4 separate regions of the Homo sapiens genome follow, and regions 2, 3 and 4 are each linked to region 1. The links are contacts of gene promoters, found by promoter capture Hi-C in blood cells and fetal thymus (Javierre and others, 2016). All regions are on one chromosome and are shown on one strand. Each heading gives the region's core, a stretch centred on a gene start or on the middle of the fragment in contact. The rest is flanking DNA. Distances are from core to core; before and after follow the strand shown. Region 1 overlaps LOC107986715 (a long non-coding RNA gene). Region 2 holds the start of SLC25A40 (solute carrier family 25 member 40). Region 3 holds the start of RBM48 (RNA binding motif protein 48). Region 4 holds the start of GATAD1 (GATA zinc finger domain containing 1).

Region 1 (3,472 bases), core at 492-2,991:
AATCTGTATTTTTATGTTCTGTGTAACTCGCATAAAATGAGTTCTCATTAAACTTCATTTTTACTTATACAACCATGTCTTCCAATAAGTATATGTTCTATACCTTCTCAGAGTATACTCTGTTATGTGTTGTATGTGGAATATACAATGGGAACAATTGTGCTCAATTACTATTCTGCCCAATGCTGTAGCTTACCATGTATAGAGTGATAGTCTATAATACATGCATAGGACAATGACTAACATATTCTTACAATATCTCCTTTGAAGGGGAATATTCTGATTAATTTATGATGTGGTAGTAATAAATACTTAAAATAACACATGAACACGCTAATATAAGCACTGATTTCATTATTTTATTTATTTATTTATTTAAAGACAGTCTCACTCTGTCACCCAGACTGGAGTGCATTGGCATCATCATGGCTTACTGCAGCCTCAACCTCCTGGGCTCAGGTGATCTTCCCACCACAGCCTCACAGGCAGCTTAGACTACAAGTGTGTGCCATCATGCCCAGCTAATTTGTTGTGTTTTTTGTAGAGACAGGGTTTTGCCATGTCACCAGGCTGGTCTCAAACTCCTGGACTCAAGAGACCAACCTGCCTTGGCCTCCCAAAGTGCTGGGATTACAGCTGTGAGCCACTATGCCTGGCCTCTTATTTTTGTTTCTTATTCATATTATCTAAGAATTTTAATTTACTGTCAGTGGTTATTGCTTTATGAAATCTCAGTAACAAGAAGCAAAGAAAATGAGATCAGTAAGTGAGAATCCTGAATACATTACGAACTTTTCTGCTCATAAGTCCTCTTGTTTGAACAAACAGGAAGCATTATCATGAAAGTCTCTTCTGATAATTCCACTGCCATTCTTACATCTATCAATGATTGAAATAAAGTATAAAAAATGAGACTAACCGATGACTAATAGGATAGTAGAAGACCCTTAAAATAGTTTTATTCCTCTAGTACAGGTGGTCTTAAATGGGGGTCTTAAAAAAATGATTCTAATTCTCAAGATTTCTAGAAATGCTTCCTAAAAAGTAACCTTTACATTATATCCTTCAAATTAAAAGCAAAGTGCCTTAACAGCGAAGTAAAATCATGTTCCATAGGAATAAATTTCCTCCACTCATTATGAATACAGGTATCAGAAAGATTAAAATTTACTTCTTTCTGTCATTGACACAACTACTCTGCTTATTCTTGCTTAGTTATTTCAGTACCCATGACAGTGTTCCAGCACATAGCTGAGTATGTGGGACAAATTCAGAACACAGAAATTATTATATTAATGCATGAATAAATGAATGAATAGTTGAAGTGTAAGTTCCTAGGAAGAAAGGCAATGAGATAAATCCACTTTTTTTCCCTCACATAGGCCTTGTTTGAAGACAATAATTACATGGCCTGAGGCCCTCTCTTTGAGAATACTTCATTTTTACTCAAAGAGGTCTTACCTAGTATGTAAACCTCATTTGTTTGATCCATTTAACTTCATCATTTGGGAGATATAATGGTTCTCAGACTTGTAATATTTTGACGGCATGAAACAAATAATATTTGATTTGTTACATCTGAAGGATTATAAGGCTAATGAGTAAGAATAACTCGATGCTCCACTTCAGGTGATTCGTATGCTATAGGAGTTAGCAATCTAGTTCTTGTCTTTCGTTTGAATAAATTAACAAATATTCCTAGAGTATCTACTGATTACAAGGCCTGAGCCAGACGGACCTTGTTAGGGACTCTTGAACAAGCAGAACTAAAAGCATGATAGACAAAAGGTAGAAATCTAATTAAAAGCAGTTGAGATGATGACACAAGATCAATTGAAATAATCTGCAAAGCCCAGAATGAAGTTAGACACTTTTCATTTTAGTCTGCTGACAAAATTAAGCAATATAACATCACAAAATATTAGATTTGTTAATTATATATTTGTCTATTTTATGCTTAAGTGTATCTACATTAAATGTTAGATTAAATGCAATGTGGTGTTAGTATTAGACCCTGGAGTAAAGTCATAGGTGAAAAACCAGTGAAAGCAAATAGTCTGTAGTTTAGTTAATATTCTAGCAATATTAATTTTTTTAGTTTTGAAAAATGGTTATAAAAGATGTTAACATTCGGGCAAACTGGATAAAGATTACATGGAATCTCTTTTGGCTATTTTTGTAACTTCTGTAAATTAAAAAGTACTTCAAAATAAAATTATTTAAAATTGTAATTAGAACAACTCTATATTAAATTTTTTCATAACCCTCATTATTGTGTGTGTGTGTGTATATATGTATATATGTATATATGTGTATATATGTATATATGTATATATGTGTATATATGTATATATGTATATATGTGTATATATGCATATATATGTATATATGTGTATATATGTATATATGTATATATGTATATGTATGTATATATGTATGTGTGTATATATATGGTTTTGTTTTGTTTTTTTTTTTTTTTTTTTTGAGACAGAGTCTCTCTCTGTCGCCCAGGCTGAAGTGTAGTGGCGCTATCTCGGCTCACTGCAAGCTCCGCCTCCCAGGTTCACGCCATTCTCCTGCCTCAGCCTCCTGAGTAGCTGGGACTACAGGCGCCCACTATCACGCCCGGCTAATTTTTTGTATTTTTAGTAGAGACGAGGTTTCACCGTGTTAGCCAGGATGGTCTCCATCTCCTGACCTCGTGATCCACCCGCCTCGGCCTCCCAAAATGCTGGGATTACAGGCGTGAGCCACTGCGCCTGGCCTGTTTTAAAATATTTTTAAAACCAAATTGTGAGTCATGTCGATGGCTTATTTGGGACTTTATTCAAGACTCTTTAGTGCCACTGACTTTAATGGTTTGCCCATACATCAAACTGAGCAACCCTAAGGAGGCATTCTTTCCTCTTCATGGCAGAAGTAGTAGTATTTTCCAACAATGACTTCTGCCTTAGGTCTGAATAGTGTCCTAAACATTTTGCCTCATGTTCATTTTAGCTGCACATTTTAAAGGGGACAGTTTCCAGTTACACAATGTTTCTTTTACTATCTGGTAATGAGAGTTATAATAAATACTTCAGGCCCTGACCACATTTTGTCAGAGGTAAATATTATGCTTTCTTTTTTGTTTACAGTACACAATGATCCTCATCATTTTGAGATATTTCTATATCAATCTCCCATTTTTTTTTTTTTAGTTGCTGTGATCATTTCCCCATGTATATGTTATGTGAAAGAAAAGTATTTGAGATTGTGTTCACTAACAAGAAATAGGCATTGGAAAATAAGTACATTGGGCTCAACACTATTCTGACACAATAGGAAAACCTAGTAAGATAGTAATCTTAATGGCAGCAAATGTCATTAAATTAAAAACATCTACACAGCAACAACCTAATGTTCATATTAATGAGAGGTAGGAACACTGATAGTAATCAACATCTGTTGCTGGTGTTAATATTCAACATTAAAG
Region 2 (3,472 bases), core at 534-3,033, 2.5 Mb before region 1:
AGTCTTAACCTTATCTGTCCTGGGGATGAAGGAACTGGTGCAGTGTTCACTAGAATGATAGTAATTATGGAGCTCTTAAGGAGCTCTACTCTGTGCCAGGCACTGTACTAAGCATTCAAAAATGTTCATTTAATCTTCACAACATCCCTGAGAAGTACTACCCCCTTTTAATAGATTAAAATTGGGGCTCAAAATTACCCAGAGGCCAAGTAGTTAGTGAAGCCCATATGATTCCAATGTTTGCAGTCTCTTCCCAATTCTGTGGCATTTTCTCCATCTCTTTCACTATTTCATCAACGACGCTTATAATCAATTCTCTTATTTCACATGCTCTCCTTGGCAATTTCATTTCCTCCCAAAGCTTTAACTACATTCTATATTAGTGCTTCCCAACTTTTTAAATCTTTCTGTAAATATAAACATTTTGTGCTCTCTGTAGCTTATATTTTGAAAATAAGTTTTTTCCCATAGAAATTACAATATTGAATATGTTTGTTCAAACTACACTTCCTTCCACCACTCAAGATCTGTTAACCTCTAATGAATTGCCCCATGATTGACATCAATAGACCTTGATGCAGAAATATTTTATTGGAGAGATATCAAATCAATCTCTATTTCCTCTTCCCATGTCCACTTCTGCTAGACATTTCTCTCGAGTCATAAACATCTTTAACTGTCTAATAAGCATAGTTCCATGACTGTCGCCCCAGGCCCTTCAACATAAACCTGTCTAAAACCAAACTCTCATTTCCCTTAGCAAACCTGTTCTCTGCGTTCTCCAGCTAATCTTGTCACAACCCACCCTTGTCTATTCTTTAAGGTACCTACCTGCAAAACCGTAACGCTGATACTCTGACTTCCTTGAGCTACCAGGTAAAAAAATCAACCACTACAGGAGTGCCTATTATGGCCTGGAGTAGAGGAATGCAAAATAGTTCAAAATATCCTCTTCCTCCTGAAGAAACAGATTTTTTTTTTTTTTTGGAGAGGCATGTTCCAACTTATAAAATTAAAATATATTCACAAGCATTTTAATTTGATCTTTAATCTCTGTTTTACAGGAAAAAAAAATGAGATGTTACTTTCCACTCCTTCATTGTTGAAATAAACTTACACTCAACTAAAAGAAAACAGGTCTGAATACAATAAAAGTCAACAGGACAGCGCAAATAGCCAACTACCCAAGGACACAAAGTGACCTGGAGGCGTTCTGCGGTGGCGCTGCCGTCAAGGCCGGGGCCGCCTGGCCAGACCCTCCCTCAGACGCCCCCCGGGGCCGCCCTCACTCCCGCACGTCCCTCTGCAGCTGTCCTCAGCCGGTGGGGTCGGCAGTGACCGCGGGAAAACCCCGCTTGCTGTGCGACCCAGGGCGCGCTGAGCAGGGGCTGCGGCTGCCGCCGCTGTCCGGCTCCGGTTCCGGCCCCGGCCCCGGGCCCGGCCAGAGCTGAGTCCGGACTCAGCCAAAGCCCCTCGCCTTCAGCTTCCCAGACGTCCGACCAGTGGAAAATTAGCATACCTGGGGCAGAAGGCAGCTGCAGGGCCGGCAGTCCTGGCAAACCTAGAAGGCGGGAATAACCCTGGTGACGGGCGGGGCCGGGCTCCGGCGCTAACTGCATCCACTAGGTTTGGTCAACACAGAGCCGCGCCAACTCTCTGAGGCTGCGCCAAGACCTGAAGCGGCGGACCGAGAGCCCGGGTCTGAGACTGAGAGAGCAACGGAATGGAGGCGGGGTAGAGGCGGAAACACAACCTGCAGGGCCAGAGCGAGGCGCGAGAAGGACGGCGGCGTGAGGGGGCGGGGCGCGCAGCGCGAGAAGGCAGGCACGAGGGGCGAGCGCGAGGCGGGGCACGGCGCGTGGCGTGAGACGGGGCGGGGCGCGCGTATCGGCGCCGCGGCCGCGTGACGCGTTTTCAAATCTTCAACCGCCGCAGCCCACTCGTTTGTGCTTTGCGCCTTCCTCCTCCGCGCCTTGGAGCCGGATCCGGCCCCGGAAACCCGACCTGCAGACGCGGTACCTCTACTGCGTAGAGGCCGTAGCTGGCGGAAGGAGAGAGGCGGCCGTCCTGTCAACAGGCCGGGGGAAGCCGTGCTTTCGCGGCTGCCCGGTGCGACACTTTCTCCGGACCCAGCATGTAGGTGCCGGGCGACTGCCATGAACTCCGGAGCCATGAGGATCCACAGTAAAGGACATTTCCAGGGTAAGAAGCCCCTCCTCCGCCTGCAGTCCCTTTAATCCTTTCCTCCCCTCGTGGTTCCACCATTGATTCTTCAGACTTCTCCCGCCGGGTCCTCAGCTTCTTTTCTTCTGACCGGCCTCTGGGGTCTGAAGGAAGGAGCCCCCGTTCAGTGTTTTGCCTAAGAAGGAACGGATCCTGACCCGGCCCCTCGAGCGCTCTGCCGTTTACAGCGGCGGTCCCAGATTGATTCCCGGTCGTGCCTTCGGTTGAAAACTAGCAAACAATGTGCAGATCCGGGACCTCGCCGGGACTGCGGCGCTGTCTGCTCCCGGGCTCTCGCATATGCTAAGCCTCCGCCCGGGCCCTTGGAGGCGACGGACTGCATCCTCAATTTAAAGTCAGACGCGCTCGTGGCTTTTCGCTTCAGGATTAGATTGAGTGATTGTGGGTGGATTTTTGGTCTTACCCTTGAAAGTTTATTTTCCTTTCCTCATAAGTTGGGGGAAAGCATTGTATTTCAAACACCCCATTGCTGGTTTCAACATTACAAACAGGGAAACAAAAGCAAATTTCCATTTTCAGTCACTTTATTTGGTGAAACATTCCAGCACCTAAGTTTTTTGTACAGGTGTTTGTGTGTGTGTAGTAACTACCAATTTAAGAACAGATTGCGTTTGAAAAATTAATTTTTAAAGCAGTTGCTTGGATCTCAGATCTGTTTCTAATGAAAATAATGAAAGGTTTAGTTCTTCGTAATGGACCGTTAAGTTCTTAATACGTAGACAAATTGTATGTGAAATGGACCGTTTAGTTGTTAATATGCAGACAAACTTTATATGAAACTAAAACTTGAGCAGTCTGAAACCCTTGAGGACTAGGTTATTCTGCGTAACAGAGGATTCTTTCATCGCTAAATGAAGTTTAAACACCAGTTTTGAATGTTCAGCAGAATGGCAGATGCTCAATAAATAGTTGAGTATTAAATATCCCCATGGAGTTTACATCCTAAAAAAAGAAAATCTTTCAAAAGAGTTTTATATAGTTCCGTGCCTCAGGAATAAACACACGAATATTTCTTGCTGAGTCAACTATTATTTTACAATATGCGGTCTGTGAAAGTATATAGGGCATTTTGCCTCTATCCTAAGTAGTACTACAAAGAAATACATTTCAATGCTAATAACTTAAACTGGTAGGGTTGTAAGGATTTTTATTCTGTAATATTGTATAATGAAATATTTTAAAAATAGTAAAAGTGTCTGTGTAAAACATCTGATTCTAAACATCTTTA
Region 3 (3,472 bases), core at 541-3,040, 2.2 Mb after region 1:
TTATTACATTGATAATTAGAAAGTAAAGTTGACCTATTCTGCTAATATGGGCTGAACAGAAACAGCAATTTGTTCCAGGGCTAAAGACATTTACATTTCAAAAAGATATGCATGAATTAATTCTTATAAGTACTTCCCGAAGGCTCAAAATTTAAAACAAAGATCAAGACCACTAAATTCTTAAACAGTGATGAATGTAAGGTAACAACTACATCTTAGGATCAAATTAGAGTTACTGTAAGAAAGCATTCCTACTATTAAGTGCAGATTTGAAAACATGTTGAAAAATCCCATCGAAGCTGACAGAGCACTGAACCAACTTCTACCTGGAACTTGGTGACAGTGACTGATTTGTCTCTAGCCATAAAGCCCATCAAAAACCAAAAGATTGTCTACTTAGTGGTAAAAAATAATAACGACGATGATAGGAGGATTCTGCTGAACTCATGTTTTCAGTGGACCAAAAATATCTTCCCCTAGGTATGGGGAAGTAACTCAAGTGGAAAGAAGGGATGCTTGAAATTATTGCAAACTCTATTCATTGCATAGATTAGCCACTGGTGGGTACCATGCATCCAGGATTTATGAGGATTTCAAATACGCCGTCCTTTTGCCCCCATAAGTACACTCAAACTCGTGAGACCATGTGCCTCTATTTTTAATTATGAAAATATGGACGCTGTATCTCCACCAGTGGTTAGAACTGTGAAACATCCTAACCACAACGTCCAGAAGGGCGACTGATCGCAGAGCTTCAAGTGATCTTAACTACGTTATGTGTTCCTAACACACTACAGCTGTGTTCCGCGTCAGCGACGCAGGGCAGAACCATCATTGTATTAACCTTTCCCGCTCATGGGACGCGGTGCTTAGTCCCCGGGAACCGACAGGGGCTCCGCCAACAACTCTGCGTCCCGCTCTCGCGGCCCGGACGGCAGCAGCGCAGGTTAACTGGAAATGGCTGGCAAGGAAAACACCTTTTAAAATAATAAAAACAAACCACTTCTCAGGAGCTTTTCCAGCCTGGAATAAGGAATATTTATAAAAACAGTGGTAGAATATTAGGACGTTTCTAGGTTCAGTTTCACCAAGTGAAAAGACCTGGGATAAGACGAGCCCAGGGCTGCACTGGACTTGTGGGATCCAGAGACTACCCAGAAGGGCCCTGCCGTCGAGGGACCCTGATCTCTGCGCGCTTCGGCGGCGCCCGGGTGGCAGCCGGTGTCCCGCCGCGTCCCTGAGAGGCTTCGGCCTCGTCCGACCCCAGGCTGAAGATCAGGTGGCTCGGGGCCGGCAGGTTACCTGCAGCAGATGCAGCTGGGCCACGAGACGCCGCGGCAGGTGGAGGAAGCAGTCGCGAGCGTTGGTGAAGGCCACAGTCACTGCCGCCCCGCCTCCCCCAGCACCCGCCAGGCGATCGCTGCCCCACATCGTCCCGGAGCGTCGCTCTGGGTTCGCCCACCCTAGCGCCGCAAAGGACCCGGGACCCGGCAGGCCGAGGACGTCGGAGCCGGAGGAGATCGATCGGCCCCGCCCCCTGCGGCCCCGCCCCCTCTCCCCGCTGCGCATCCTGCCGTAAGCCTGTAGTGGGTGGGACAAGAAAGCTTCTGTCACCCACCGCGCCTCTCCGCCGAGCCGCTCGGGGGCGGCACCTCGTTCATCAAATCTTCGCACGCAGGAAACGATGGCCGACGCTGTCGATTCTCCAGCCAATCCTGGCACTCCTTAACTCATCCCGCTCTCTTATTGGATAAAAGGGAGCTCAGTAGGGCGGATGTTGTCCTCCCTGCGAGGATCAAAGTAGGCAAGATGGCGTCGAGCGGCGGGGAGCTAGGGAGTTTATTTGATCACCACGTCCAGAGGGCGGTATGCGACACACGGGCCAAATATCGAGAGGGACGACGGCCTCGTGCTGTGAAGGTAAAGTGATTTTGGTTTCATTCGCTCTCCTCGGTAGCTTTATGTGAGTGCTAGCGCCATATGACCAGCCTACGGAAATAAAGGCACGACAAGGCTTCCGTCAGATCTGTCTCTCGTTAGAGCTGGCGTGAAGAACCCTCGGTCAGTTACCAAAGATTCTCACGACGCCTTTGGTCAAGTATTAGAACATCAACTCCACGAGAATAGGCCTTGGTTTTAGTCATTGGATCTTCTGTGTTTACAGTACTACTTGGCACAGGTAAGCACTCAGTGAATATTCGTTGAGTGATTGTTCCCAGTGACTTCTACCGACTCAATTTCTGGAAAAAAATGTCGACTGAAGGTAGTCTGTTATATGCCTTAGGTAGCCTCTCACATGGACTGTTATTCTTTATGCAGAAGGAATGGCAGAAATTTCATTTTGTGTTCTTTTGCTGACTGGGTTGAACAGATTATTTCTTGTTTTCAAAGTTCTCTTTAAAAAAAAATAGAGGCAGATTCGTCCTAGGCTTATTTGCGAAATACGTTTAATAACTCTGCATTTCTTTCAGGTATATACAATCAATTTGGAATCTCAGTACTTATTAATACAAGGAGTTCCTGCTGTGGGAGTCATGAAGGAATTAGTTGAGCGATTCGCTTTATATGGTGCAATTGAACAGTACAATGCTCTAGATGAATACCCAGCAGAAGACTTTACTGAAGTTTATCTTATTAAATTTATGAACTTACAAAGTGCAAGGTAATGTGCAAGTTAAGAAATGACTCATTTCCTCATTTCTTCCATTCATATTTCTGTCATTTTGGCCCCAAGTTTCCCTCATTCATAACTGAATTACCCCAAAACGTAATCTAGCATATCTTCCTCCAGCCTTTTTAAAAGTTAACTTTACTGAAACACTGTATCCATCACATCATTCCCATGCTTAACAATTTAATGTCCTGTAGCTTGGTAGAGTAGAAGTTGGGTTTGGCCAGGCACGGTGGCTCACGCCTGCAATCCCAGCACTCTGGGAGACCGAGGTGGGCGGATCACGAGGTCAGGAGTTTGAGACCAGCCTGGCCAACATGGTGAAACCCCCCTCTCTACTAAAAATACAAAATTAGCTGGGTCTAGTGGCGCAGGCCTGTAATCCCAGCTACTCGGGAGGCTGAGGCAGGAGAATCGCTTGAAACCGGGAGGCAGAGGTTGCAGTGAGCCGAGATTGCGCCATTGCACTCCAGACAGGGCAACAAGAGGGAAGCTCTGCCTCAAAAAAAAAAAAAAAAAAAAAATTTGGGTTTGAAGCCTGGGCGTGGTGACTCACGCCTGTAATCCCAGCACTTTGGGAGACCGAGGCAGGCAGATCACTTGAGGTCAGGGGTTCAAGACAAGCCTGGCCAACATGATGGAAACCCCTCCTCTACTAAAAATACAAAAATTAGCCGGGTGTGGTGGTGCGGACCTGTAGTCCCAGCTACTCAGGTGGCTGAGGCATGGGAATTGCTTGAACCTGGGAGGTGGAGATTGCAGTGAGCAGAGATCATGCCACTGCCCTCCAGCCTAGATGAC
Region 4 (3,472 bases), core at 726-3,225, 2.1 Mb after region 1:
TTTTTGTACATGCACAGGAGGCTTTGTAAGAAAAATAAAGACCCATAGAAGTTACTAGGCCCGAAAGCTTATATGTCCTTTTAAACAAAAAATAATAAATTGCAGGGATGTGACAAGACAAAGGGGCTTGGGCTAAGGCTGGCAAATTGTGGGAAAGTGACGAAGAACCGTATGTAGAAAGTTAATGGAAAATATGGGTTACAAATTTTTGTAAGGTTTTGTTTGTAGATTCTTCTCAGTGGCAACTCTGCCTCTGGCAATAATATTCTCCTCTTCCTGGTACAGAAAGGGCACCTTTCACAAGGGAACTTTTATGTTCCGCTTCAAACAGAAAGAGGGTGGTCAGACAGCCTTCCCTGCATCTGTTTTTGCTCCATTGCCTCTGGCTCAGAAGAATCAGTATGCCAAAGTGGCATATTTTAGGATGGCAGGCTCTAAACACCTTCAGCATTGTTCTAAAGTGAGACAACACTCTTTACCTAGTCTCCTCAGCCACTTTTACAGTTGGCCCTAATCCCCATAACAGTCCTGGAAACTTATTTTTACTGTTAAGGAAACTGAGATTTAGAGGGGAGGTGACTGAGCCACAACCCACACCCCAGAGGGCTGTTCCAAAGCCCTCCTCGAAATTGGTGCCAAGGGCAGCAGCTATAATGACAGCCAGTCCACATAGAAGTGCCTCCGTTGATCACCAATTAACAGTAAAATCTGATAATATCTCATTCCAAGGTTGTTATAAGCACTAAATGTGGTTTTGTGACATAATAGGCGTTTGTTTCTCCCCACTGCTTCCCACCACAATATATTCATCAAGACCTTTCCAAGGATACTAAGTCTAGGAAACCCAGGATCATGAAGAGAGGGCATGTTCTTCCAAGTGAGGCTGAGGAGAGACTTGTCTGGCGAGGCCTGTACTGACTAGTGACATTAAAAGAGGCGATCTGACTTCTCATACTGCTCTTGTCCCAGGCCTGCTGTTTGTCAACTGCTGGGTCCTCAGAGCCAAAACTGTTTTCCAACAGTTTTGAATTGAATAACAGCCAGCTATTCGATTTTCTCCGCATTCTCTAATCGGTATACTCTTCAGAGTCCACAGGATTTGCAACGATATTATCCAACGGCTGAAGAATGTGCGCTTGACATCTTAGGCTGTAAAATGTCTCAATTTCAATTTCTAATACATAGATGTCAGTGGATGGCATTTTCTGAACCCTTTGTCGATGTCCATAAACGGCATGCTCTGAATTCAACTAAACAAAAGTATAGACATGGGGGAGGTGTAGGGCGATGTCCAAAGTATAATTTTTAAGAGTGTAAAGGGTTCCTAAGTAAGATTGCCAGATTTTTTTTTTTTTTTTGAGACGGAGTCTCACTCTATCCCCCAGGCTGGAGTGCAATGGCGCGATCTTGGCTCACTGCAGCCTCCACCTCCCGCGCTCAAGAGATTCTTCTGCCGCAGCCTCCAGGGTAGCTGGGATTACCCCAGAGCCCGCCACTGAGCCCGGCTAATTTTTGTATATTTATTAGAGAAGGGGTTTCACCACGTTGGCCAGGCTGATCTCGAACTCCTGAGCTCAAGTAATCCGCCGGCCTTGGTCTCCCAAAGTGCTGGGATTGCAGGCGTGAGCCACCACGCCAGACCTGGATTGCCAGATTTAGCACATAAAAATACAGGACCCCCAGTTAAACGCCTCTCGGATAAACCATTATTGCATGGGATACACTCACGCTAAAAAAATTGTTCGTCGTTTACCTGAAAGTCACATTTAATTGGGCGTCCTGTATTTTACCCGGCAAATTCTAGGCCTGAGACCAAAAAGTTTGAGAACCCTGCCCCTAGGCGACAGCAAGCGGAACTGCAGCAAGCTCCCAGTAATTCCGGGTGCTGCACTTCCGGTCAGGCGGTCGGGCTGCGGGGCCCTGGGGCCAGCTCACCGCCGGAAGTCTCCGCGTCCCCCCCACCCCGGCCAGATCCCTTTCCCAGTCCTGCTTCCCAGTGCCTCGGGCCAGGGAATCCTGGCCTCCGCCTGCGGAGCCGGCGGAACCCGCTTCCCGCCTCCACGGGGCAGCGCCAGCGGCCTGGTCCTTTCACCGGCAGCTCCGTGCCGACGCTCTCACCGCTCTTCCTATCGCCGGGAGTGGCGGGCCGACCAGGGGGCGGCCGGGCTACCGTCCGCCATTCCCGTGTCTCTGCGCCCGCGGGGGCCGCCCGAGCCGGCCACCATGCCGCTGGGCCTGAAGCCCACCTGCAGCGTATGCAAGACCACGTCGTCCTCCATGTGGAAGAAGGGAGCGCAGGGGGAGATCCTCTGCCATCATTGCACTGGCCGGGGCGGCGCGGGCAGCGGGGGCGCAGGCTCGGGGGCGGCTGGAGGGACTGGGGGCAGCGGCGGCGGCGGCTTCGGCGCGGCGACCTTCGCCAGCACCTCCGCCACCCCTCCGCAGAGCAACGGGGGCGGGGGCGGCAAGCAGGTGAGCTCCTCCGGCCCCTCCCGCCGGCGGAGGCCGACCAGGTGCTAGGCGGGCGGGGACGGGCTGGCTGGGAGCGGGCGGGCGCGGGCTTCCCCGATCGCCGTGCTCCTGCTGGCTGGAACGCCCCTCCCCACCTCCTACTGAGATCTTTCGTTTGGCCCATTCCGAAGCACCTGTTATTGTAAGAAATTCAAAGCAATAAGAACCAAGATGTAAAGCCCTTAAGAAAATCTCAATATACACATGTCTACACAGTCGTATACAGTGTCATGCCACAAATGCAGGCGCTGGACCTCATTCCTTGTTAAAGGTTTTGTCATATCAGGTTATGAAGTAAGATTATTATGTCATTATTGTAAATGGCAGCTTAAGTATTCCGTTGCAGGGGGCGCCATAACCTACTACGTTCTCTGGCCTTAGGGAGTAAAGTTGTTAAGTGTTTTTCTCTATTGTAGACACAACAAATGAATAGTGTTTGTCTTGGTCAAGACTGACTCCTACTCCCGCCTCCTGCCCTATTACAAGCAGCTCACACCTTTTGGAGGCTCTGGAGACGCCTGTCCAGCGAGCTCCGAGATTCCGGGTGCTGAACTTCCGGTTTTACTTAGCCTAGTTGCTGTAATTACTTCTCTTGAAAAGCAAAAGGGCAATCTTAATTGTTAAATGCTCTTATAAAGTACATACTCTGGGATCCTTGTAAGATGATTGTACTGCAACCTTTATGCACTTTTTACTTCTTTCTCTTTTTGTTCTTTAATTTGTTTGTGTAACAGAGTAAGCAGGAAATTCACAGGAGGTCTGCTCGGCTCAGAAACACTAAATACAAATCTGCTCCGGCTGCTGAAAAGAAAGTCTCCACCAAAGGAAAAGGGAGAAGACATATATTTAAATTGAAAAATGTAAGATATTTGTGGACAGTGCCTTTTACTGTAATGACGTTGTGTGTATCCTGCCACTGCCTTCATTTCTCACCATTGAACTTGGACTCTGCCCTTGGTAG

The links. Contacts are between HindIII fragments. The CHiCAGO score rates a contact against its expected background, and 5 or more counts as called.
Region 2: the fragment with the promoter of SLC25A40 here is called in contact with a fragment that was not itself captured in region 1 in 5 of 17 cell types (fetal thymus, total CD4 T cells, activated CD4 T cells and 2 more); the score reaches 11.7 in fetal thymus.
Region 3: a contact is called between the fragment with the promoter of RBM48 here and a fragment that was not itself captured in region 1, in 1 of 17 cell types (fetal thymus). The highest score is 5.6, in fetal thymus.
Region 4: the fragment with the promoter of GATAD1 here is called in contact with a fragment that was not itself captured in region 1 in 3 of 17 cell types (activated CD4 T cells, naive CD8 T cells and total CD4 T cells); the score reaches 7.6 in activated CD4 T cells.

What each region holds. Positions count from the first base shown.
Region 1 is chr7:90,341,864-90,345,335 of GRCh38, forward strand. The region is part of intron 1 of LOC107986715 (a long non-coding RNA gene); the gene reads right to left. It overlaps LOC101927446 (a long non-coding RNA gene), which reads left to right. Exons shown (of 6, transcript NR_110085.1): 6 at 382-2,231. Among named protein-coding and RNA genes, the nearest start is that of GTPBP10, 3.1 kb to the right of the region's middle. The HindIII fragment of the contact is 5,064 bases long and covers 1-3,472 here.
Region 2 is chr7:87,874,577-87,878,048 of GRCh38, forward strand. SLC25A40 (solute carrier family 25 member 40) reads right to left here and starts at 1,784. Exons shown (of 12, transcript NM_018843.4): 1 at 1,520-1,784. DBF4 (DBF4-CDC7 kinase regulatory subunit) reads left to right here and starts at 1,917. Exons shown (of 12, transcript NM_006716.4): 1 at 1,917-2,202. The coding sequence starts at 2,157. RefSeq lists silencers at 1,177-1,626, 1,757-2,016 and enhancers at 1,380-1,889, 2,077-2,196. The HindIII fragment of the contact is 3,397 bases long and covers 360-3,472 here.
Region 3 is chr7:92,527,005-92,530,476 of GRCh38, forward strand. RBM48 (RNA binding motif protein 48) reads left to right here and starts at 1,791. Exons shown (of 5, transcript NM_032120.4): 1 at 1,791-1,920; 2 at 2,472-2,662. The coding sequence starts at 1,810. It overlaps PEX1 (peroxisomal biogenesis factor 1), which reads right to left and starts at 1,516. Exons shown (of 24, transcript NM_000466.3): 1 at 1,303-1,516. The coding sequence starts at 1,431. RefSeq lists enhancers at 935-1,114, 1,715-2,094 and a silencer at 1,345-1,574. The HindIII fragment of the contact is 3,452 bases long and covers 1,603-3,472 here.
Region 4 is chr7:92,445,507-92,448,978 of GRCh38, forward strand. GATAD1 (GATA zinc finger domain containing 1) reads left to right here and starts at 1,976. Exons shown (of 5, transcript NM_021167.5): 1 at 1,976-2,472; 2 at 3,246-3,371. The coding sequence starts at 2,224. RefSeq lists a silencer at 1,896-2,665 and an enhancer at 3,096-3,145. The HindIII fragment of the contact is 4,596 bases long and covers 66-3,472 here.